Regions from separate parts of the Homo sapiens genome. Here regions 1, 3, 4 and 5 are each linked to region 2. The links are contacts of gene promoters, found by promoter capture Hi-C in blood cells and fetal thymus (Javierre and others, 2016). All regions are on one chromosome and are shown on one strand. Each heading gives the region's core, a stretch centred on a gene start or on the middle of the fragment in contact. The rest is flanking DNA. Distances are from core to core; before and after follow the strand shown. Region 1 overlaps ZNF771 (zinc finger protein 771). Region 2 holds the start of ZNF689 (zinc finger protein 689). Region 3 overlaps TBC1D10B (TBC1 domain family member 10B). Region 4 overlaps ITGAL (integrin subunit alpha L). Region 5 has its middle 4.8 kb from the start of SEPHS2.

The links. Contacts are between HindIII fragments. The CHiCAGO score rates a contact against its expected background, and 5 or more counts as called.
Region 1: a fragment that was not itself captured here is called in contact with the fragment with the promoter of ZNF689 in region 2 in 16 of 17 cell types (M2 macrophages, fetal thymus, erythroblasts and 13 more); the score reaches 15.4 in M2 macrophages.
Region 3: a fragment that was not itself captured here is called in contact with the fragment with the promoter of ZNF689 in region 2 in 3 of 17 cell types (M2 macrophages, non-activated CD4 T cells and erythroblasts); the score reaches 11.3 in M2 macrophages.
Region 4: a fragment that was not itself captured here is called in contact with the fragment with the promoter of ZNF689 in region 2 in 3 of 17 cell types (erythroblasts, M1 macrophages and M2 macrophages); the score reaches 6.3 in erythroblasts.
Region 5: a fragment that was not itself captured here is called in contact with the fragment with the promoter of ZNF689 in region 2 in 16 of 17 cell types (erythroblasts, M2 macrophages, endothelial precursors and 13 more); the score reaches 15.5 in erythroblasts.

Annotation. Positions count from the first base shown.
Region 1 is chr16:30,415,326-30,418,025 of GRCh38, forward strand. It overlaps ZNF771 (zinc finger protein 771), which reads left to right. Exons shown (of 3, transcript NM_001142305.2): 3 at 2,230-2,700. Among named protein-coding and RNA genes, the nearest start is that of SNORA80C, 3.1 kb to the right of the region's middle. RefSeq lists silencers at 2,217-2,306, 2,587-2,666, 2,697-2,700. The HindIII fragment of the contact is 4,394 bases long and covers 1-2,700 here.
Region 2 is chr16:30,609,130-30,611,829 of GRCh38, forward strand. It overlaps ZNF689 (zinc finger protein 689), which reads right to left and starts at 1,260. Exons shown (of 3, transcript NM_138447.3): 1 at 708-1,260; 2 at 396-509. The coding sequence starts at 912. LOC124903678 (a long non-coding RNA gene) reads left to right here and starts at 1,345. Exons shown (of 2, transcript XR_007065051.1): 1 at 1,345-1,634. RefSeq lists a silencer at 950-999 and an enhancer at 1,287-2,256. The HindIII fragment of the contact is 6,999 bases long and covers 1-2,700 here.
Region 3 is chr16:30,364,361-30,367,060 of GRCh38, forward strand. It overlaps TBC1D10B (TBC1 domain family member 10B), which reads right to left. Exons shown (of 9, transcript NM_015527.4): 2 at 1,135-1,234; 3 at 745-852; 4 at 540-646. Among named protein-coding and RNA genes, the nearest start is that of TBC1D10B, 4.8 kb to the right of the region's middle. The HindIII fragment of the contact is 2,248 bases long and covers 174-2,421 here.
Region 4 is chr16:30,477,842-30,480,541 of GRCh38, forward strand. ITGAL (integrin subunit alpha L) reads left to right here. Exons shown (of 31, transcript NM_002209.3): 5 at 1,250-1,367; 6 at 1,490-1,620. Among named protein-coding and RNA genes, the nearest start is that of ITGAL, 6.4 kb to the left of the region's middle. The HindIII fragment of the contact is 985 bases long and covers 791-1,775 here.
Region 5 is chr16:30,439,736-30,442,435 of GRCh38, forward strand. No RefSeq gene overlaps it. Among named protein-coding and RNA genes, the nearest start is that of SEPHS2, 4.8 kb to the right of the region's middle. RefSeq lists an enhancer at 2,593-2,700. The HindIII fragment of the contact is 1,916 bases long and covers 435-2,350 here.

The sequences.
Region 1 (2,700 bases), core at 171-2,670, 190 kb before region 2:
AAGTTGCCCTCCTGCAGCTTCAGAAACAGAAGGCCCTACTATTTTCTGCTGTCACCCTTTTTTTTTTTTTTTTTTTTTTGAGACGGAGTCTTGCCGTCACCTAGGCTGGAGGCAGTGGTGCAATCTTGGCTCACTGCAACCTCCACCTCCCGGGTTCAAGCAGTTCCCTGCCTCAGCCTCCCGAGTAGCTGGGATTACAGGCGTCCGCCACCACGCCCAGCTAATTTTTGTATTTGTAGTAGAGACGGGGTTTCAACATCTTGGCTAGGCTGGGCTTGAACTCCTGACCTCGTGATCCACCTGCCTCGGCCTCCCAAAGTGCTGGTATTACAGGCGTGAGCCACTGCACCTGGCCTTGCTGTCCCTCTCTCTTCACCTGTCTCCCCATCTGTAAAATAGGGATGATGATAATTACCTCGTGGAGATCGAATATGGGAGAAGCTGACACTGTCTTGTCCTTAATATGCCCCAGGCACTTCATTTGGTCATGAATTAATTGCTTGGCCACAGTAGATACGCGACATCAGTTTTGCTGGGGTTTTGAGCGTTCTCTTTTCTAGGAAGGGAGCAATATGCCCTCAATACTCTTCACTGTTAGTCCAGAATGTTTTCCCTTCATGTGCCTCTTAGAAGGCATTTCTTTCCTTTTTCTGATTTTTATCTCTAAAAGGCCAGAGCTTGTGAAACTGGCTCATTTTCAGATTGTTTCATTTCAGACCTCAGAATAACATTTGGCTTTTACCCTTGCCTTTTTCTTCACTGCTTAAAAAATGATAGGTGTTTGCTATTCAAAGCTGATTAAGAGCCTGGACTTGGTCCTGGCCTGGCTTCCAGGATGCCCCTCTCCTGCTCTCCTCCCTCCCTGGCTTCTCCCCATCTTGCTGCCCTAGGTTCTGTCTGCCCATCCCCTGGATGATCTCATCCACTCATTCTCAAGGCTTTATAAACCATCTATAGGTTGACAGCTTCTCAATTAACATCTCCAGTCTAGGCCTCGCTTCTGAGCTCCAGATATGTCAAGAAGCCGTGACACCATCCAAAACAGATCTCCCCTCTCAACTTGCTCCTCCCACCGTCCTCATCTCTGTAAATGGCAACTCCACCTTTGCAGTTGCTAAGCTCAAAAACCTTGAAGTCATTTTGATCTCTTTTTCTTCACACCTCATATCTAATCTCTTATTAAATCTATTGTCTCACACTGCAAATAGATCCAGAAGCCAATCACTTCTCACCACCTCCACCATCCACCGTCCACTTCTGTCACCTGGGTATGAGCCACTATCTTCTCTTGCCAGGTGGCTGTAGTGGCCTCCTCACTGGGCTTCTGCTTCTGCTCTCTCCAACTCCTTCATTTGGTTTTCAACCCCAGTAGCCTGAGGGGAGCCTTTTTAAATGTGTAGGATATGGTCACTTCCCTGCTCAAAGCCCTCTGACATCTCCTCTTACAGGTCCCTGTCTCCTTTATAATAAAAGCCAGAGCCAGGCACAGTGGTATGTGCCTGTAACTCCAGCTACTCAGAAGGCTGAGTCAGGAGGGACTGCTTGAGCCAGGAGGTTCGGGACCAAGCCTGGGCCACGGCAAGACCCTGTCTCTTAAAAAAAAAAAAAAAAAAAAAAGCCAAATATAACAAATACAAGGCCCTATATGCCAAGAGATCTCCACCACTACATCCGTGACTCCCCCCATCATGCATTCTGCTTTAACCAATTTTTCTTGCCATTTCTGGAACAGCAGGCAACTCCCGCCTCTGCGCCCTGCCGTTCCCTCTGCAGTGCTCCTCAGAGGGCTATCCACGTAGCCTGCTCTGTCACCTCCTTTAAGTCTTTGCTCATGTTATCATATCGGTAAAGTGTCTTGACAACCCTGTTTAAATCTGTAGCATCCCCAATACCAGCATTCCTTATCCATTATTTCTGAAAGCAGGAATTTTTTAATGCTTTTTATTTAATGCGGAATCCCCGTGCCTAGAACAGTCTAGGACACTGCATGCCCTCAGTAAATATTGGTTGAATTAATAAAAATAGCTAGAACGCCACTGGGCTTTGTGATGTGTGCGTTACGCGCATTATCTCACTGGATGCGCACAGCCATCCTGGGAGGCAGCACCGTGGCCTTTCCTATTTCATAGATGGGGAACTGAGGCTCACAGAGGGAGCAGCCTGTGGAGACCCAGGTCTCTGGCTCCGGGGCCTGCCGCTAAGGGCTGACCTATCCCCCTCTCCCCGCAGGTCCCGGGCGAGGCGCCCGCGCCGTCCGCCGACCCGGCGCGTCCCCACGCGTGCCCCGACTGCGGCCGCGCCTTCGCGCGCCGCTCCACGCTGGCGAAGCACGCGCGCACGCACACGGGCGAACGGCCCTTCGGGTGCACCGAGTGCGGGCGGCGCTTCTCACAGAAGTCGGCGCTGACCAAACACGGCCGCACGCACACGGGCGAGCGGCCCTACGAGTGCCCCGAGTGCGACAAACGCTTCTCGGCCGCCTCGAACCTGCGGCAGCACCGGCGGCGGCACACGGGCGAGAAGCCGTACGCATGCGCGCACTGCGGCCGCCGCTTCGCGCAGAGCTCCAACTACGCACAGCACCTGCGCGTGCACACGGGCGAGAAGCCGTACGCGTGCCCGGACTGCGGACGCGCCTTTGGCGGCAGCTCGTGCCTGGCGCGCCACCGACGCACGCACACGGGCGAGCGGCCCTACGCT
Region 2 (2,700 bases), core at 10-2,509:
AGCACCTGTTAAAAGCTCACTGATTCTGGCTGGCTGCAATGGCTCACGCCAGTAACCCCTGCATTTTGGGAGGCCAAGGCAGGAGGATCGCTTGAGGCCAGAAGTTCAAGACCGAACTGAGCAAGACAATGTTTCTACAAAAAAAAAAAAAAAAAAAAAAGACGAAGAATAAGCCCACTGATTCATTCACACAGTGGAAAACTGCAGCTTGCAGACTGACATAGGAATCTCTGTGTGGTGGACCGGCCCCACACCACCAGACACAAGAGGCTGGGAAGATGAATATACTAAATACGCGGCACCCACCCCTAGCCCAACCAAAACTCTGGACAGAGCCGTTAGAGGTAGAACGTTATAGGAGGGCTGCAGGCTCTGCGTGGTTATTTAGCACTCACTTCTCTGGACTGTTAGCCCTCTCGGGTACTCCTGCGGATCTAGAGCAGCCGGTTCCCAGTCATCGGTGTTTCGTTCCAACCAGGAGATGAGGGCTGGTTTGGGACCTGCGCACCCTGGGGAAAGAGAACAAATCAGAAGGCCAGCTCCTAGATCACGCCGAGTAGTATCTCCCCGACGGCACCTCCTGCTAAGCCCCTGCCCACCTCCCCTGACAACCTGGTCGCCTGCCAGGACCGTGGCCTCCCTGCCTACACCCTCTCCGGCTCCTGCATCCCTTCGCGCCCCGCGGCAGCGGATGGGGCCGGCCTCACCGAGCGCGCCCAGGTGACCGTAGGTCTCCCGCATCACGTCCCGGTACAGGGCCCTCTGCGCGGGCCGCAGGCAGCCCCACTCCTCCGGGGAGAAGTACACGGCCACGTCCACGAACTTCAGAGCCCTCGGCCTCCTGCCCCTTTTCCGACTGGGTCTGGCCTTTCCTGGTCCCTGCGCAGGGAGCGGAGCCGAAGGTGGCGCCATGGGACCCGAGAAGCCGGCGCCACGGCCTTCCGTGTCCAGGCCTCGGCCCTCGGGCGCTGGCGGCCCCTGGGATCGAGGAGCCCCTGCCGGACCAGGGCTGAGCGTGGCCGGGGAGGCCCGGAGGGAATCGGAATTGGTCGCCCGCGGGGCTAACGGAAACCTTTTGCTGTTATTCAGGAAACTCCTGCCCGAACTTGGGTGAAAGGCACCGGAAGATGCCTTCGGGGAAAATGGCGGCGCTGCTACCGCACCGCCTTTGCCTGGAACACAGGCAGCTTCCAGCTATCGATTTTATTGACCGGAGCGCCATGCCGGCTTCCTAACCTCTTTGCCCTCAAGTGTAATGGCGCTGCGATTGGGCTTCACGCCGTCTTTTTTCCCCTCCCCAATACGCGCGTTCATTGGACGAGAGCCGAAGATCGAGCGTTCTGATTGGGTGCTAGCAAAGGCGGTCCGTTTGAACGAAGCCAAGAGCTGCATAAGGGCAGGAAGCTGGACTGCTAGGATCAGGCGACTACAAGGAGTTGTGAAGCGACTTGCACCGACCTGGGGGCAGCAAGAGGCCCCGGGGCTGCTTTCCGCTGTTCGACTCTGGCAGGCTCAGCCAATCACTGAAGGAGGGAACGATTTGAGCGATGGAGCCACTCTGGCCGAGTTAGAGCTGAGATTATCCTGAGTTCCTTTTACTGGTGTTCTCAGAGCATCCTTGACTTTGGAGAATGGTTATCTTCTTTGTTTGCCCTTTAGGGGAGGGAATTATGGTTAGCATTTCCTGGGGGCAGGCGCCATGCCCAGCATATTACATATTTCATCTTTATTATTTTTTATTTTTATTTTATTTATTTATTTTTGAGACAGAGTCGTGCTCTGTCGCCCAGGCTGGAGTGCAGTGGCGAAATCTCGGCTCACTGCAGCTTCCACCTCCCACGTTCAAGCGATTCTCCTGCCTCAGCCTCCCGAGTAAGTGAGATTACAGGCGCGTGCCACCACTCCTGACTAATATTCATATTTATTAGCAGAGATGGGGTTTCACCATGTTAGCCAGGCTGGTCTCGAACTTCTGACCTCAAGTGATTCACCCACCTCGGCCCCACGAAGTGCTAGGATTACAGGCGTGAGCCACTATGCCCGGCCTTATTTTTATTTTTTTGAGACAGGGTCTCACTCTGTTACCCGGGCGGGATGGAATGCAGTAGTGCAATCTCAGCTCACTGCAGCCTCTAACTCCTGGGCTCAAGCAATCGTCCTGCCTCAGCCTTCAGAGTAACTGGGACTACTGGTGTGCACTACCACGCCTGGCTAATTTTTTATGTTATTTGTTGAGTCAGGGTTTCCCTGTGTTGCCCAGGCTGGTCTCGAACCCTTAGGCTAAGTGATCCTCCTGCCTCGTCCTCCCAAAGGGCTGGGATTACTGGCATAAGCCACAGCACCGGAGCCATTAGTTATTCGCTTTTTTTTTTTGAGACTGGGTCTCATTCCGTTGCCCAGGCTGGAGTGAAGGCATGCACCCACAGTGCTCTGCTAATTTTTTGTATTTTTGGTAGAGACGGTGTTTCGCCATGTTTCCCAGGCTGGTCTCGAACTCCTGAGCTCAAGCAATCCGCCCACCTCGGTCTCCCAAAGTGCTGGGATTACAGGAGTGAGCCACCACACCCAGCCCGTTATTAATTCTTTACTAGCATTTTGTGAACCAATGGTTATCATCCTGGTTCTACTAATGAAGAAACGATCTCAGAGGGATTCCATGAGTTTCCAGGGCCATACTGCTAGTAAGGAGTGGGGAATAAA
Region 3 (2,700 bases), core at 48-2,547, 240 kb before region 2:
TACCTGGGAGGCAGAGGTTGCAGTGGGCTGAGATCACACCACTGCACTCCAGCCTGGGCAACAAAGGGAGACTCCATCTCAAAAAACAAAACAAAAAAAAGTCCATCAGAGAACTCCCTAAGATGATCATCTTGCATACTACTAGAGAAGAGTATATACTGACATCTGGAGGAAGCTTGGTCTATAGAACAAAATTCCAAATGCTTTGGCATAGCATTTAAGGGTCCCTGGTGATCTTTTCCATAACCCCCAGGCAGGAAAACCCTGCCCCACTGCTGTAGCTCCCACCCCTCCAAAACCCAGCCCAAATGCAAGCTCTTCAAGGAGCCCATGACGTGCCCCCACACACAACCTGAGTCAAGTCTCCTTCCCAGGACAGTTCCTTTGACATGGCTTGACACTTAGTCCATTACAGATAGCTCTTCTACAAGTCCTGAAGGGCAAAAACCACTTTCGACTCAGTCTTGTATCCACCTAGCTAAAAGGTGGATCCTCCAGCCAATGTTTGCTGACTGACCCCCATGGTCCGGCCACCTTACCCATGCCCCCCTCGAGCAGCAAACATCTCGTGGAAAGGGAACTGGCGGTGCAGGTCCTTCTCAATCACATCCAGCCACTTGGGGTCCCCAGGAGCCCGTTCCAGCTCCTGCAGTGGGACAGTGGGGATTACCTCAGCATCTGGGGGAACTGATACCCCTTGCACAGACAGGGCCACATGTCCCCACACCTTGGAGCTGCACGCACCTCAAACTTTCCTGGGTTCTGCTCCAGAAGTTCCTTGCTATTAGACAGGTACTGCCAGGCTTTGGCTCTGAGAGAGGAGGGGATCCCCTTCCGGCAGCGCAGCTTCACCTAAGGCAAAGTGGCAGGAGGGGGACAGCTTCAAGGGCTGGCACAGCCTCCAACCTTTCCCCAGCAGTCCACAAACTCCCTGGATACTCCTCCGACATCCCATAGGCTTGATTCCACTGGACCTGGCCTGGACTTCTATTTTTAAAGCCATTCCCCCGCCAGGGCCCATCTATCCCCAGTGTGGTCCAGAGGGCAGATATTATCGGCTTCCTGGGCTTCCCTGGAGCACATGCTACCCCTCCCAACTTGTGCATTGCCCTGCCCACCATTCAGCCCTCAAACCTTCTGGAATCGCCGTGACAGCCACTTATCCCAGTTACTGAACATGTCCAGCCATTTGAGCTCCCGCTGCCGAGCCACGTCCACGGGAATGGAGCTCTCTCTGCAGGGTCGGGGGAGCACGGAAGGGGTCAGTAGCAATAGTGTAAAACCTGCATTGCAGGGGGAACTGAGGCAAGCCACCTCCCCAAGCTCAAACGAGAAACTGGATAGTCTGTGAGCTGCCAAACATCAGGATGTCTGGCCACTTGGGCATCCCAAGGCACACTGAAAGGGCTTCCTTCCCTGATGGATCTCTATTCAGAGGTCATATTTAAATCTCACTTCTGACACATCCAAATCTGGGGAGAGAGTATGGAGTATTTTAAAGCCACATTTTGCATTAGATCTGGATCCACGTCCTAGCTTTACCATTTATTCATTGTGTGACCTTGGGCAAATCACTTAATTTTGCTAAGCCCAATTTCCTCATCTGTAAGGTGGAGAAAGTAACAATATCTACCCGAAGGGGTTTATACGAAATAACACACAGCGAAGTGCCCATTAAGTAATACCTTACTATCCATAAAATAAAATACCCTAGAGGGCCAGGCATGGTAGCTCATGCCTGTAATCCCAGCACTTTGGGAAGCAGAGGCAAGAGGATCACTTGAGGCCAGGAGTTCAAGGCCAGCCTGGGCAACATAACGAGATTCTGTCTCTACAAAAAATAAAAATAAAATAATAAAATAGGCCGGGCATGGTGGCTCCCACCTGTAATCCCAGCACTTTGGGAGGCCGAGGCAGGCGGATGACTTGAGGTCAGGAGTTTGAGACCAGCCTGGACAACATGGTAAAACCCTGTCTCTACTATAAATACAAAAATTAGCCAGGCATGGTGGCACGTGCTTGAAATCCCAGCTATTCGCGAAGCTGAGGCATGAGAATCGCTTGAACCCGGGAGGCGGAGGGTGCAGTGAGTCAAGATTGTGCCACTGCACTCCAGCCCAGATGACAGAGCGAGACTCCATCAAAAAAAAAAATAATAATAATAAAATAAAATACAGAACAAATGTACTTCTGTCTCTTTAGACGCAACCATCTGAGTTTTGTCCTATCAAATGTTTAAGATCCCTTGGGTCACCTGCAATTTACTCTACCTCCTCCTCCCTGAAATCACCCCAGGCAAATAAAGGACTCCCTGCCCTATTTACTCACTGTTCTGTCAGAGGTTCATACTCATGGTGCCCCATCATTCTTCAAACACTTACTTGTAGGAGCCAGTACTAGGAGGTGAGTAGAACGGAAGAAAGCTTGGGTCTTAAGAATCAAACCTACCTAAGTTCAAATTTCAGTTCTGTCTCTGAGACAATAGGGAGCTTTGTCAAGGGATGACCTGAGTCCCTTCCTCAATTATAAAAAGACACCACCGGGCCGGGCATGGTGGCTCATGCCTGTAATCCCAGCACTTTGGGAGGCGGAGGTGTCAGAAGTGAGAAGCGGATCACCTGAGGTCGAGAGTTCAAGACCAGCCTGGCCAACATGGTGAAACCCTGTCTCTACTAAAAATGCAAACTCAGCCGGGTGTGG
Region 4 (2,700 bases), core at 33-2,532, 130 kb before region 2:
TCCCACTGCACTCCAGCCTGGGTGATGGGAGTGAGACCTGAAAAGAAAGAAAGCAAGGAAAGAAAGCAAGAAAGCAAAGAAAGGAAAGAAAGAAAGGACGGAGGGAGGGAGGGAAGGAAGGAAGGGGAGAGGAGGAGAGAGAGATAGGAAGGAAGGAAGAAGAAAAAGAAAGATGAAGGAAGGAAGGAGAAGGAAGGAAGGAAAGAAAGAAAAGGCTGGGTGCAGTGGCTCACTCCTGTAATCCCAGCACTTTGGGAGGCCGAGGTGGGCAGACACAAGGTCAGGAGTTTGAGACCATCCTGGCCAATATGGTGAAACCCCGTCTCTACTAAAAGTACAAAAATTAACTGGGCGTGGTGGTGGGCACCTGTAGTCCCAGCTACTGAGGAGGTTGAGGCAGGAGAATCACTTGAACCCGGGAAGCAGAGGTTGCAGTGAGCCAAGATCGCACCACTGCACTCCAGACTGGGTGACAAAGCGAGACTCCGTCAAAAAAAAAAAAGAAAGAAAGAAAAAGAAAGAAAGTGGGGGGCGGAGGGGAGGGGAGAGGAAGGGAAAAAGAAAGAAAGAGGCATGGCCGGGCGCGGTGGCTCATGCCTGTAATCCCAGCACTTTGGGAGGCCGAGGCAGGCAGATCACGAGGTTGGGAGATCAAGACCATCCTGGCTAACACGGTGAAACCCCGTCTCTGCTAAAAATACAAAAAATTAGCCGGGTGTAGTGGCGGGTGCCTGTAGTCCCAGCTACTCAGAAGGCTGAGGCAGGAGAATGGCGTGAACCCGGGAGGCGAAGCTTGCAGTGAGCCGAGATCATGCCATGCAGTCCAGCCTAGGCGATAGAGCGAAGACTCCATCTCAAAAAAAAAAAAAAAAAAGAAAGAAAGAAAGAGGCACTGTATATTCTGGGAATCTTGATAATTTGATTTGGCTGGAACACAGAAAAAGAGATTGGGACTAGGAGAAGATGGACCTGGAAATGTGGGGTCGTGCCCAGTGTAAGCCCAGATAAGGAGTCCAGACTCACCACCAGTCCTACAGGCGGTGAGCATCCATTGGCATAGAGCATTGGTAGGATGGGAGGGATGGACAGTAGAGACTGTGGAGGCGGACATTCCTTGCCTTGGTAACCAGTTGGATAGAGGAAGTGAGAAAGAGGACAAGGACTCTGAACGTTCCTAGTTTTGGTTGATGTTGCCCAAAAGACACATAGCAAATAGGAGACCCAAATCTTTGGCCTTTGCTTTCTTTAGGCCTGTGACCCTGGGCTGTCTCGAACGTGTGACCAGAACACCTATCTGAGTGGCCTGTGTTACCTCTTCCGCCAGAATCTGCAGGGTCCCATGCTGCAGGGGCGCCCTGGTTTTCAGGGTAAGGAACTGGGGACTCATTGGGTAAAAATACCTCCAAATGGCTGTCCCTAGAGAGAACCAGCATGGGCAGGTCAAACACCAGAGATGCTTCACTGGGTCCCTTGCGTCTGGCTTCTGCAGAATGTATCAAGGGCAACGTAGACCTGGTATTTCTGTTTGATGGTTCGATGAGCTTGCAGCCAGATGAATTTCAGAAAATTCTGGACTTCATGAAGGATGTGATGAAGAAACTCAGCAACACTTCGTACCAGGTAAAAAAGTTAGTTAGGATTCTTGGTTGCATGCAATAGATGCCTACCTGAACTGACTTAAACCATGAAAGGAAATGTTAGTATGTGGAATCCTCAGAGCCTATGGGCATGGCTATAACTGGGCCTCTGGAAGGGACAAGAACCAGGGAGTAGAAAGCTTCTAGGAGTCTCTCTAGTTCTCATTTCCTTTTTTTTTTTTTTTTTTTTTTTTTTTTTGAGATGGAGTTTTGCTCTTGTTGCCCAGGCTGGAGTGCAATGGCACAATCTCGACTCACTGCCTCCCAGGTTCAAGCAAGTCACCTGCCTCAGCCTCCCAAGTAGCTGGTATTACAGGCAACTGCCACTACACCCAGCTGATTTTTGTATTTTTAGTAGAGATGGTGTTTCACCATGTTGCCAGGCTGGTCTTGAACTCCTGACCTTGTGATCTGCCCACCTTGGCCTCCCAAAGTGCTGGGATTACAGGCGTGAGCCACCGTGCACAGCCATTTTTTCTTTTTGAGACAGGGTCTCACTGTGTCCCCAAGGCTGGAATCATGGTGGCACGATCATAGCTCACTGTAGCCTCAAACTCCTGGGCTCAAATGATCCTCCCAACTAGCTGGGACTACCCATGTGCACCACTGTGCGTGGCTAATTTTTAAATTTTCTGTAGAGATGGTTTATCATTGTGTTGCCCAGACTGGTCCCAAACTCCTGGATCTCTCAAGAGATCCTCCTGCCTTGGCCTCCCAAAGTGCTGGGATTACAGGCATGAGCCACTGTGCCCAGCTAGTTCTCATTTCTGTTTCTTTTTGCGTCTTTGCTTCCTTCTTCTCTTTTCTCAGTCTCCGTAGACTGGCTCCCTTAGCGCCTTTAGACCACATAGACCTATGGAAAGCTCCTAAGTTCATGTGTTAAAGTTCCAAGAGGGTTTTTTACCTTCCCCTCAACCAACACCTCCCTTTGCAAATTTCCAGTTCTCAGAGAAGAGGTTCTGGCTGGCGTAGCTTCAGTCAGGTGTTGATCCCCGGCCCAGCCAACTGTATCTAGTTAAGCAGCGTCACTCAGCAGAAATATGGCTGCTGGAACCCATCCCTA
Region 5 (2,700 bases), core at 143-2,642, 170 kb before region 2:
TCATTTACCCTCAGAATTTTGAAGGCATTGCTTTTGTGTGTGTGTTGTTTTTAAATTTTTTTTCTGAGACAGGGTCTCACTCTGTTGCTCAAGCAATCCTTGCACCTCGGCCTCAGGCGCATGCCACCATGCCTGGCTAAACTTAATTTTCTATTTTTTTTGTAGAAATAGGATCTCACTGTATTGCCCAGGCTGGTCACAAACTCCTAGGCTCAAGTGATCCTCCTGCCTCGGCTTTCCAAAGTGCTGGAATTACAGGTGTGAGCCACCGCACCTGGCTGCTTTATTGTTTTTTAGCTTCCAATTTGAGGTTGTGAAGTCTGATGTCATGATGACATACAAAGGTGTGTCATTATTCCCACACCTTTGTATGTGATCATAGTGATCAGAAGCATGGGTTCTGGAGTCAGACCGCCTACAAGACTGACTATGCAAGCTTGGACAAATTTCTTATTCTCCCTATACCTCAGCTTCCTCATTTGCAAATTGGGGTTGTTAGAAGATTGGGTTAATACGTATAAAGCACTTACTTCCTGCACAGAATATGTGCTATATAAACATTTGCTTTCATTATTATTAGGATCTCTTCTTCATAACTGGCATTTTGAAATTTAATAAAATTAGCATGGATCTTTTAAAATGTACTGTGCTAGGAGTTCAAGAGGTATGTGGTTTACAACTTTTAAGTTCTAGAAAACTTGGATAATATTTTTTCTTCCATCTGCTTTACTGCCTTATTCTAGAACTCCGCTTAGATGTTGAACCTCCTGCCTCATTTGATCTTTATAGAATTTATTTTATTGTGCATCTTTTTGGGCTACTTTTTTTTTTTATTTTACTTCACGTTCTGGGATACATGTGCAGAACATGCAGGCCTGTTACACAGGTATACATGTGCTATGGTGGTTTGCTGCACCTATCAACCTGTCATCTAGGTTTTAAGCCCCGCATGCTTTAGCTGTTTGTCCTAATGCTCTCCCTCCCTTTGCCCCCAACCCCCAATGGGCCCTGGTGTGTGATGTTCCCCTCCCTGTGTCCATGTGTTCTCATTTGTTCAACTCCCACTTATGAGTGAGAACATGCAAGTGTTTGGTTTTCTGTTCCTGTGTTAGTTTGCTGAGAATGATGGCTTCCAGCTTCATCCATGTCCCTGCAAAGGACATGAACTCATTCTTTTTTATGGCGACATGGTCTACTTTCTTATTTATTTATTTTTGAGACAGAGTCTCGCTCTGTCACCCAGGCTGGAGTGCAGTGGCATAGTCTTGGCTCACTGCCAGCTCCACCTCCCGGGTTCACGCCGTTCTCCTGCCTCAGCCTCCCAAGTAGCTGGGACTACAGGTGCCTGCCACCACGCCCGGCTAATTTTTTGTATTTTTAGTAGAGACGGGGTTTCGCCGTGTTAGCCAGGATGGTCTTGATCTCCTGACCTCGTGATCCGCCTGCCTTGGCCTCCCAAAGTGCTGGGATTACAGGCGTGAGCCACCGCGCCCGGCTTATTTATTTTTTGAGACAGGATCTCACTGTGTCACCCAGGCTGGACTGCAGTGGTGACTGCAGTGGTGCAATCTTGGCTCACTACAGCCTCCATCTCCCAGGCTCAAGTGATCCTCCCACCCCAGCCTCCAGAGAAGCTGGGACTACAAGTGCACACCACCATGCCTGCTAATTTTTGTATTTTTTGTAGAGACAGGTTTTCGCCACGTTGCTCAGGTTGGTCTTGAACTCATGGGCTCAAGCCCACCTTGGCCTCCCAAAGTGCTGGGATTACAGGTGTGAGTAAGGTGCCTGGCCTTTTGGGGCTACTTTCTGATAAATTTCTGCAACTTTATGTCTCCTATTAGAAATTTTTTTTTTTTTTTTGGAGACAGAATTTTGCCTTGTCATCCAGGCTGGAGTGCAATGGCATGATCTTGGCTCACTGCATCCTCTGCCTCCTGGGTTCAAGTGATTTTCCTGCCTCAGCCTCCTGAGTAGCTGGGATTACAGGTTCATGCCATCAAGCCTGTCTAATTTTTATATTTTTATTAAAGATGGGGGTTTCACCATGTTGGCCAGGCTGGTCTCGAACTCCTGACCTCAGGTGATCCGCCCGCCTTGGCCTCCCAAAATGCTGGGATTACAGATGTGAGCCACTGCACCCAGCCCCCTATTAAAAATTTCAAGTTTTAGCTTTATCTTTATATTCTAAGTGGCTGGTTCTCTTAAGTATTGCTTTGCGGATATTTTTTATCTTTTTTCCTACTCCCTGTATTGTCCCTCTGAGTTTCCTTTTTCTGTTTAAGTTGGAGGCTCTCCTCACATGCTTGGTGATCCTTGACTGCTCATATTTAAGAATGAGGCATTAAAAAGCTTAACATTAGCTGGGCGCGGTGGCTCATGCCTGTAATCCCAGCACTTCAGGAGGCTGAGGCGGGTAAATTGCTTCAGGTTAGGAGTTGGAGACCAGCCTGGCCAACATGGTGAAACCACATTTTCTACTAAAAACACAAAATTCACCGGGCGTGGTGGTGCACACCTGTAATCTCAGCTACTCGGGAGGCTGAGGCAGAAGAATCGCTTGAACCTGGGAGGCGGAGGTTGCAGTGAGCTGAGATCGAACCACTGCACTCCAGCCTGGGCAACAGAGTGAGACTTTGTCCGGAAAAAAAAAAAAAAAAGCTTAACATCATTCAATAAAGGCTTTCACCTAGGAGGCCT